2 separate regions of the Homo sapiens genome follow, and region 2 is linked to region 1. The links are contacts of gene promoters, found by promoter capture Hi-C in blood cells and fetal thymus (Javierre and others, 2016). All regions are on one chromosome and are shown on one strand. Each heading gives the region's core, a stretch centred on a gene start or on the middle of the fragment in contact. The rest is flanking DNA. Distances are from core to core; before and after follow the strand shown. Region 1 holds the start of ASB7 (ankyrin repeat and SOCS box containing 7). Region 2 overlaps LRRK1 (leucine rich repeat kinase 1).

Region 1 (4,211 bases), core at 1,697-4,196:
AGAGATACTGTATGTGTCATAGTATTAACTAATTGTAAATGACATCACTTTATGTGTAAAGAATGTAAGTACTGGCCACAGTATACTAAAGATGCATCATTGCATATCTTCAATTAAAATCAATTATTCTCCCTACGTGATTATAAATCTATATTTGGTGACGAAATAAATTGGATTTTTTTTAAGCCACATGATTGGCAATAGAATTAATACAAAGCTAACTGCCAGGTTAAAAAATGTAAGCTACCTAACTAGCCATGTTGGTAAATAAATACCCAAATTAAATATTCTAAATGCCTGGTATAATCTAGACCAAATACTCTCAGTCATTCTGATATTAGAAACATGACAGATGTTGACAATTTACACATATTCCCTAATCTTAGAAAAACTATTAAAAAATGAGATGATCCATGAAATACGATTTAAGCAATGAGAATGAACTGGCTGAGAGCCAGAGTAAAGACTTATCCTCTCTTACCTTATGTGCTGGACTAGCCACAGACTCCTTCCCTTTACCATCTCAGGTGAAACTACTCTTTAGAAATGAAAGCGTCCTAGAGTTACATGTAAAGCTGAAAAAATATTTAACTGAGAGGCTTGAATACAAAACACAGTACTTCATTTTGATCTTTAGAACATACTTCAAATATTTTAGCATTTTTTAAAAGTTCTGAAGTAATCATTAGGCCATCTCCCTGACAACTTCCATACTTACATAATAAAAATTAGCCTTTAAAGATTTCCGGGTAGCTTTTACTGAAATGATGTAGTCTAGTACTCCTGATTCCCTACATATACATACAAAAGCTGCCCTAAGTTTTCAACAGGGAACAGTCATTGGTAGATACTGATTCTAAATCCTATTCCCTAGAATCTCTTCTTTTGGCATGCAGTTCCATGTCTCAAGAATATGCATACCTCAGATCCCCTTAAAAGCTATGTCTTTATCTCTTTAGCTATGTCTTAAGAATTAACAGAATCAGTAAAGATACTAATTTCTTTTTGTGGAGGGCAGAAAGTCCAGTGGAACATAGGAAATCAAAAATATTAACTTCTGCTATTTTAAGCACTTCCTTGTAACAAAAATTCCCTAAACAATTTGGGATATTAAAATAACTCAGATTAACAAGTCACTTTATACTTTTGCTACTGGATGTTAAAAAAGTCATCCATTTGGCTAATTTTGGAATTAAACCTTGTATAATTTCCATGCTTATATCCCCCCTTTAGGAATTACACTAATGTCCTAAGTTTACTTTCAGAGCATTTTCAGAAGCAGCAACAAAATATGGCAGCAGAAATGTGATCACATGAATTAGATGCTTAAATTTCAATCCAGCAAACTCTACGTAAAAGTTTTAAAATGAGAAATCTTTTTTATAGAGTGCTAAAATTAAGACCCAGATATGTAAACACACCAAAAGGTTCCTTTGTTTTTAAATTCCTGAGTCAAACGATTAATAAGATATTGTGCAAATTTTTAAAAGTTCTCCTAGAAAATCTGAGGTGTAAGAAACATTGTATCTTTATAAGTTTCAAAGCCCATCCACATTTGTCACACACAAACACACAGAAAGCCCAAAGAGTTAATTATGCCTAAGTGCTTCAGGGTAATAATGTTGTCTTCATACCATTCACACTCTTAAGGTACACAGGTTGGCTTTCTAGTAGGAAATAAAATCAAACTATTTTCTGAAACTCATAAATCTCAGGCCAATAATTTACCTTTCTCTACCAAATCGTTGTCAGTTAGATAACTCAAAAGATTTTTCTGATGCAGGTAGAAGAAAGGTGATAGGAAAGAGTAAGGGGGAAAACAGTAAATTGTGGTTTAATTAAAAAGGAAAGTCATTCAGAATTAACAAGCAATTAACAAGGAATTGAGGAATTCCTATGAGAGTAAGGAAGGGAGGGTAGCTACAAAAAGGTCTCAAAGCCTCAGAGCAGAGTAAATGGCACAGTGTACCAAAAGATAATGAAAAACACAGAAACACACTGTACAGAAAGAAAGTGGGAAAATACTGTCCTGGGTAGAGAAGTTATAAAATGTTAAGTATCAGGCACGGGTAATGTTTTTGTTTTTCCTGGGAAACTGGGGGTGGGGGTGGGGGGGGTAGGAAAGGTTGCATTCCCAGGCAACCACCCTGAAAATAAACCACTGCTTAATGAGGTAGGGGCCAGGAATAAACAACGGGGGAGGGGAGGGCTGGCTCATTACCTTTACAGACGATGCTGGTCAGAGGCACTGTGCCTTCTGCTTCTCTGATAGGTGGGCAGACCTCTTCCTGCTTTCGCGTCTTCTTCAGCCAGCTCAAACCTAGAAAAACAGAAACCAGTGAGTGGTGTAGTGTCTCAGAGGTGGGGAGGGGGGAGCTCAGGAAAGGGGCTGGAGAGTGGCAAGGGCAGGCAAGAAAAAGCAGAGATTTTCCTCCCTCCTACCCTCCCAGCCAGCACTCTTCCCCTCGGGGGAAGTAAAGGACTTTACCTGTCTCCTCAGCTGCTGCTTCTCTTCCTCCTTTCAGCCTCCTCTACACTCACCAACTTCTCCATTGAAGAAATACCCCAGGCAGGGCCGGACCCTGGTGTTCCTGATCCTCCTCGGTGCCTCACGGCCCCAGCCCGGCGAACATCCGAACAGCCGAGAAGGCAGGAGGTGGCGATCCCGGCCGCCGGGCAGCCTTGGGGCAGAGGTGCAGGGAGGCAGGGAGGAAGTCCTGGCTCGGGTGGGGGGGCAGTCCCGGTCCAGGGCTCGGAGCAGGGGGCTGCCGCGCTCCGGGCCGGAGGCTTCCAGCTACGGAGGGACCCAGGAGGTCTCGGGACGGCGAGGTCCCAGGTCATACGGGGCCCGAAGTGCCAGCCGTGGGGTCTCCGGACAGGGGGCTTTCGGGATGCACTTTGCACTGGGCCACCCCCGCCCCCTCCCTTCAGCACTTTGGGGTCACTGGGATGGGACCAAGCCTTCAACAACCAATCAGCGCCCGCAGTGGAGCCTGAGCCTGGAGCCGTAAACCAGGTCCGGGATGGGTGGGGGTGGAGGGAGTAGGGACGACTTGGTTGGTTGGTTGCTTCCTTCTCTCCTCCTTACCCCCGGCAGCCCCCACCCTCTGCCTGCCGTAAAGTTGCCTTTGCATTCGCGACAGTTAAGGGAGGCGTGCCGAACGGGGCAGAGATTCGTCTCCGATTGGTCTCACTCACTTCCCCTTACAGCTTCCCCGTGGTGGCTTCCGAGGCTCCGCCCCTGGCGGAGGGACTCAAAGCCGTTGCTAAGAGACACTATTCGCCGAAGGCGGTCTCTGCGCATGCGGGAGGAGGTGCCAGCTTGTACTTTCTGTGAACTACGGTGGCCCAGAGCGGGCATTTGTGTTCCCTCAAATGGCGGTGTGAAGAGAGTTCGCCTGAGCCAGATCCCAGGCAGGTAACCGGGACCGGCCGCCGTGCTGGCAGCAGGGGAGGCACGAGTGCGGCCAAATGAGAGCCTGGTTCAGGGCTTAAGGTTGGGAGGGCGGCAGGCTCCAGGAAGCGAGTAGAGGGGTGCCTTGTTTCTCCGCCCCTGTTCAGCGCTTGTCAGACGCAAGTGCCCGGTCTTGGCGCGGCTGTCGGTCCTTGAGACCCCGTTAGCTTCCAGGCTGGCAATGCCTCGCCTGAAGTGGGAGAACGGACTCTCTTTGGGATAGCGATGACGATCCAAGGACCTTCCTGAAAGGATAGCAACGTTGGCGGGTTCCTGTGAATGAATGGAGAGGGGTCGTGGGGAAAACGCGAGATAGACTGATCAAGACACGTTTGTTAAGCACTTTATTCATTAGCAAGTGTTTACTGGCCACTGTTCTAGTCCCTGGGGAGACAACAGTGAACAAGATAGTGATTTCGGGGAAACAAACACAAAATTATCAGATAGGGATGGGTTATATGAGGAAAATCAAGCAGAATGGTGGAATCGATTTTGACCAGGACGTGATGGGCTGTATTAGATAGGTAGTGCTATGGTGTGAATATCTGTCCCCTTCAAAACTCATGTTGAAATTTAATCCCCAATGTGGCAGTACTGAGAGGTAGAGTCTTTAAGAGGTGGTTGGACCGTGAGGGTTCTGTCTTCACGAGTGGATTGATCTATTCATGGATTAATGGGTTATCACGGAGGTAGAACTGGTGGCTTTTTAAGGAGAGACTTGACAACTCGTGAGCCTGCTCAGCCCCCTGGCCACGTG
Region 2 (4,007 bases), core at 1,508-4,007, 420 kb before region 1:
GGCTGGGTCAGCTCTGTGGATGGCCACCCTTGGCCAGGAAAGGGGCCTAGCCCCACCCAGACTCAGGAGCTCTCTGCAAGCTGATCCCAGGAAAGATCAGCGACTGGCACCCACAAGAAGGCAGGAGCTGCCCGAGGCTGGGCACTCACTGTAAGTGTTTGAAGGTGATGTCTGGGAAGCCTGTGGCCCTGGAGCCGGAGGGGGAGCGGCAGAGTGCCAGCACATAGGCACGCAGCGTTGCAATCCTTTCCACACGGAACTTGGCTTCAATTAAATCCAGGTGCGTCCCGACCACCAGCACCACGGCGTTTGGGGCCTTGGCCTGCAACAGAGAACCCCACGGCTGAGTACTGTCTCTGTTCATGGAACAAGGGACAGGACAGAGCTCCCAGCTGTGCAGGTGCGCTGACCCTGGATGCCACGGCCCTTGCTCAGCCACCAATCTGCAGCCTTGAGACGGTTTGGATGTTTGCCTCCTCCAAATCTTATGTTGAAATGTGATCCCCAGTGTTGGAGGTGAGGCCTGACGGGAGGTTGGGTCATGGGGCCAGATCCCTCATGAATGGCTTGGCACCTTCCTGCAGTAATGGGTGCGTTCACCCTATGTCAGTTCACAGAGGAGCTGATTGTGGAAAGGAGGCTGGCTCCTCTTCCTGTCTCTCCTGCTCCCTCTCTCACTATGTGACATGCTGGCTCCCCTTCCCTTCTGCCATGACTAAAAGCTTCCTGAGGCCTAACCAAAAGCCAACAGATGCTGAAGCCATGCTTGTATAGTCTGCGGAATTGTGAGCCAAATGAACCTCTTTTCTTCATAAATTACCCAGTCTCATTCCTTTCTAGTAATGCAAAACAGACTGCGCTACAGGATGTCAGCCCAGGCAGCACCTGTGCTCCTCATTCTCCGTGAACCTGAGGGACTGTTGCATTGAGGGGTGTCTATGGTGTTCTGTGACCTCCTCCACGGAGGGTGCTGAGTTGGACTTGTGGGGAGGGATTTCTGACCCTTCAGACATGACAGCAGCCATCAGAGGCAGGGAGACAAGGACATCTTTATAACAGGAAGGGAACCCTGCTCTGCTTTTGGATCCAAGGGTGGGGGTTCCTAAATTTAAGGGAAGCGGGGAAATTACATCACCAGCCCTCAGCAGAGGAAGGTTTCAAGTGCCTCACTGTGAAAAGCAAGCAGGACCACGGTTCTGGGGCCCTCTGTGGCAACATAACCCCCTTTTTTTCTCAGTACAGGGGATGCTTGAGGGAAGCGGTGGGACCTGCAAAGCTCTGGGCACTGAAATGGCAGGGCTGGCGTCTGGTGTCCTCACCTCGATGTTGAGCAGCCAGAACTGGAGGTTGGCCACGGCCTCCTCCCCCAGCGCCAGGTTCCAGACCACCACGTACAGGGCCTTGTCCGTGAAGAAGCACTGGTTGACAGTGGCCATGCTGGCCGGTCCCCCGATGTCCCAGACGTTGAACTCCACGGACTCAACCTACTTGAGCAACAAGGCAGCGACAGGGAGGCATTTTAGAGACAAAGGCTTCAGTCAATCAAACGGAGACAACGGATAACTCTGGAGGCTGGACTCGGGGGTCTGAAAAAACAACCGTGGAAAAGTTCTGGACACTCTATTGTTTCTTAGGAAACAGTTATCTGGGCGAGGGACAGGGGCCCGGTGGCATGGGGGTGGGCTTCTGGGACTTCTGTCTACTCCTAGCAGAGCAGAGACCAGGCCCTGGACAGACTTCAGAGGGCCTGGCTCTGTCTGGGCTGCAGATGGGTAGGGGATGCCCTGTGGGAGGAAGCTGTGCTCTGATGTCACGGCTTGCACTGGGGTTCAGCCTCCCTGTGTGCCAGGGCAAGAGGAGGAGATGGGCCTCTGAACTTGTGGGGCTCAGAGGGTGGCGCCCACCAAGGATGCTGGGAAACTCCCTCCCACCCTGTGGGAATCAAACAAAAGATGAGCTGTTGGGCTGCCGGGAACGGCTGTGTAAACGGTGGTTTCTCTATCATTGCATGAGGTAAGAGTCTGGCCCTGGATGCTAAGGCTGCAGTTTTCTACAGAAAGGAGTCATCTCTGTGAGGCAGCATCAGCCTCCAAGACACAGTGTGCTGACCTGGTTTTGTATAAAGATGAAAACAGCTGTTCTCAACTGGCTGAGGCCGGCCACAGAGAGAGCGGCGGGCTCAGCCTTCACAGGATTGTCCTTCCACTAAAGGGTAGGGGGTTTTAATCATCGCAGAAAGGAAGTGGGGGTGAAGGTCAGGAAAAATAGAAGCACGAATTCACCCCTCAGGCCTCAGCTAGAGGAAGCTAAGAGAAGAAATGAGATTGCATAACTGTTAAGAAAAAGGCAAAGCTGGAGAGAATGCAGAGGATTCTGGTTCCTGGAGAGAACCTTCAGACTCGAGTCAGCTAGATTTGCTCCTGGAATGTTCTAGGATTGGCCTAGCGTTGATTGTCGTGTTTGATTGTTCTGGCCCCAACAGGCAGCGCTTCACCCCTTGGAGGACCAGCTTCCAAGTTCGTGTTAGAACAGATGCACAGCTTCAATGCCTACTTTTTCAAAGCAGGTTTGGAAAGTGGTTGTGTGTGGAAGAAGCTGCAGTGTTTGGTTGGCACTGTGCGTGGGAGCTTTGGGGGAAAATCATGGACCATCTGGATCTCAAGCCTCCTCAGTTTTCCACAGTGAAGCAGCCTCTTGCCCCTTGGATCCCGAGGAATCACAGGGTGGCAGAAATCCAAATACAGTTGATGAGGATGGCCTTATCTATGTGTGTTCGTTCCCCGAGCTCAGAGAAAGGGCTAACTGCCCCTGCTCTATTCCAGGGATGGAGTTCCCACCAACAGTCCATGGCTCTTTTCTCTGTTACATGAACAGGAAAATGTTCATTTCCATTTGCCTGGCACTGAATGGAAAGCAAGATGATTAAGAAGTTTATGGATGGACTCAAAAAATTTTTTTTGAATGGAGTCTTGCTCTGTCGCCAGGCTGGAGTGCAGTGGCATGATCTCGGCTCACTGCAACCTCCACCTCCCGGGTTCAAGCAGTGATGGATTCATTTTAAGTAGGGCTTAGAAACAGGACTTTTCAGAACCTGGGGTGAAAGCAGGTGTCAGGGACGGCAGGGTGTTAAGTCCCAGAGTGCTTTTAGCCTCCTCATCAGGGGGCAGATGCTGGTGTGTTTCACTGCCTGCAACAGTGGTTAGCTCTCAGCCCTGGGGGTGCCTTATCCCAGACCACTTGAACTTGAATCCTTGGGGTCAGAGAGCAGTGAGGTGAGGCCTGGGAATTGCTATCTTTAAAAGCCCCTCAAGGGAATCTAACAGACAGCCGGGGTTAAGAACCACTGTCCCAGAGCCTCAAGTAACTATAACAGAAACATACAGGGCAGGTGGATCATTTAAGCTGGGGAGGTTGAGGATGCATCCAGCCTGAGAGACACAGTGAAACCCTGTCTCAAGAAAAAAAAAAAAGAAAAGTAAAGAAAAAGAAAACATCACAAAGTCACATTAAGAAATGATTCGCTGCTCTTGGCAGAAGCTGGTATGGAATGGTACACAGTGGCTCCTGCAAAGGGCCTGAGCTTTGGACACCAGGCTGAGAAAATCCTGGGCTCTCTGGGGAGAAGGGAGAAGGAGTCCAAGGGATGTTCCTCCCACCCACAGGGACTCTGCACGCAGACCATCCTTGACCTTGGCTCTCGAGCCAGCCGGCCTCTGGAGCTCCCACTTGGTGGTCCTGATGGTGGCCTCTCCATGCACCACCTGGGGGGCCCTCCCCGTCTGTAAGATCTCCAGGAGGGTGGACTTGCCCTGGCGCGGGGGACCCACGATGATCATCTTCATCAGCTTGCACTTTTCCGCTTTCCGCAGCTGAGCACGCAGGTAAGACAGCATTGCTTTGGGGCCTGTGCAAAATCATTAAGGGGAAGGGTAGCTGCGTGGGCACATGCTCACATCTCTTAGGACACAAAATCCTGTTGTGAAGGAACTCCTTCTTTGTGTTTTAGT

Evidence for each region. Contacts are between HindIII fragments. The CHiCAGO score rates a contact against its expected background, and 5 or more counts as called.
Region 2: a contact is called between a fragment that was not itself captured here and the fragment with the promoter of ASB7 in region 1, in 1 of 17 cell types (monocytes). The highest score is 5.1, in monocytes.

What each region holds. Positions count from the first base shown.
Region 1 is chr15:100,601,324-100,605,534 of GRCh38, reverse strand. ASB7 (ankyrin repeat and SOCS box containing 7) reads right to left here and starts at 2,946. Exons shown (of 6, transcript NM_198243.3): 1 at 2,489-2,946; 2 at 2,222-2,320. It overlaps LINS1 (lines homolog 1), which reads left to right and starts at 3,351. Exons shown (of 7, transcript NM_001040616.3): 1 at 3,351-3,414. RefSeq lists silencers at 2,164-2,213, 2,664-2,923 and an enhancer at 3,094-3,433. The HindIII fragment of the contact is 6,685 bases long and covers 1-4,211 here.
Region 2 is chr15:101,022,280-101,026,286 of GRCh38, reverse strand. LRRK1 (leucine rich repeat kinase 1) reads right to left here. Exons shown (of 34, transcript NM_024652.6): 15 at 3,690-3,904; 16 at 1,320-1,484; 17 at 150-322. Among named protein-coding and RNA genes, the nearest start is that of LRRK1, 100 kb to the right of the region's middle. The HindIII fragment of the contact is 4,066 bases long and covers 725-4,007 here.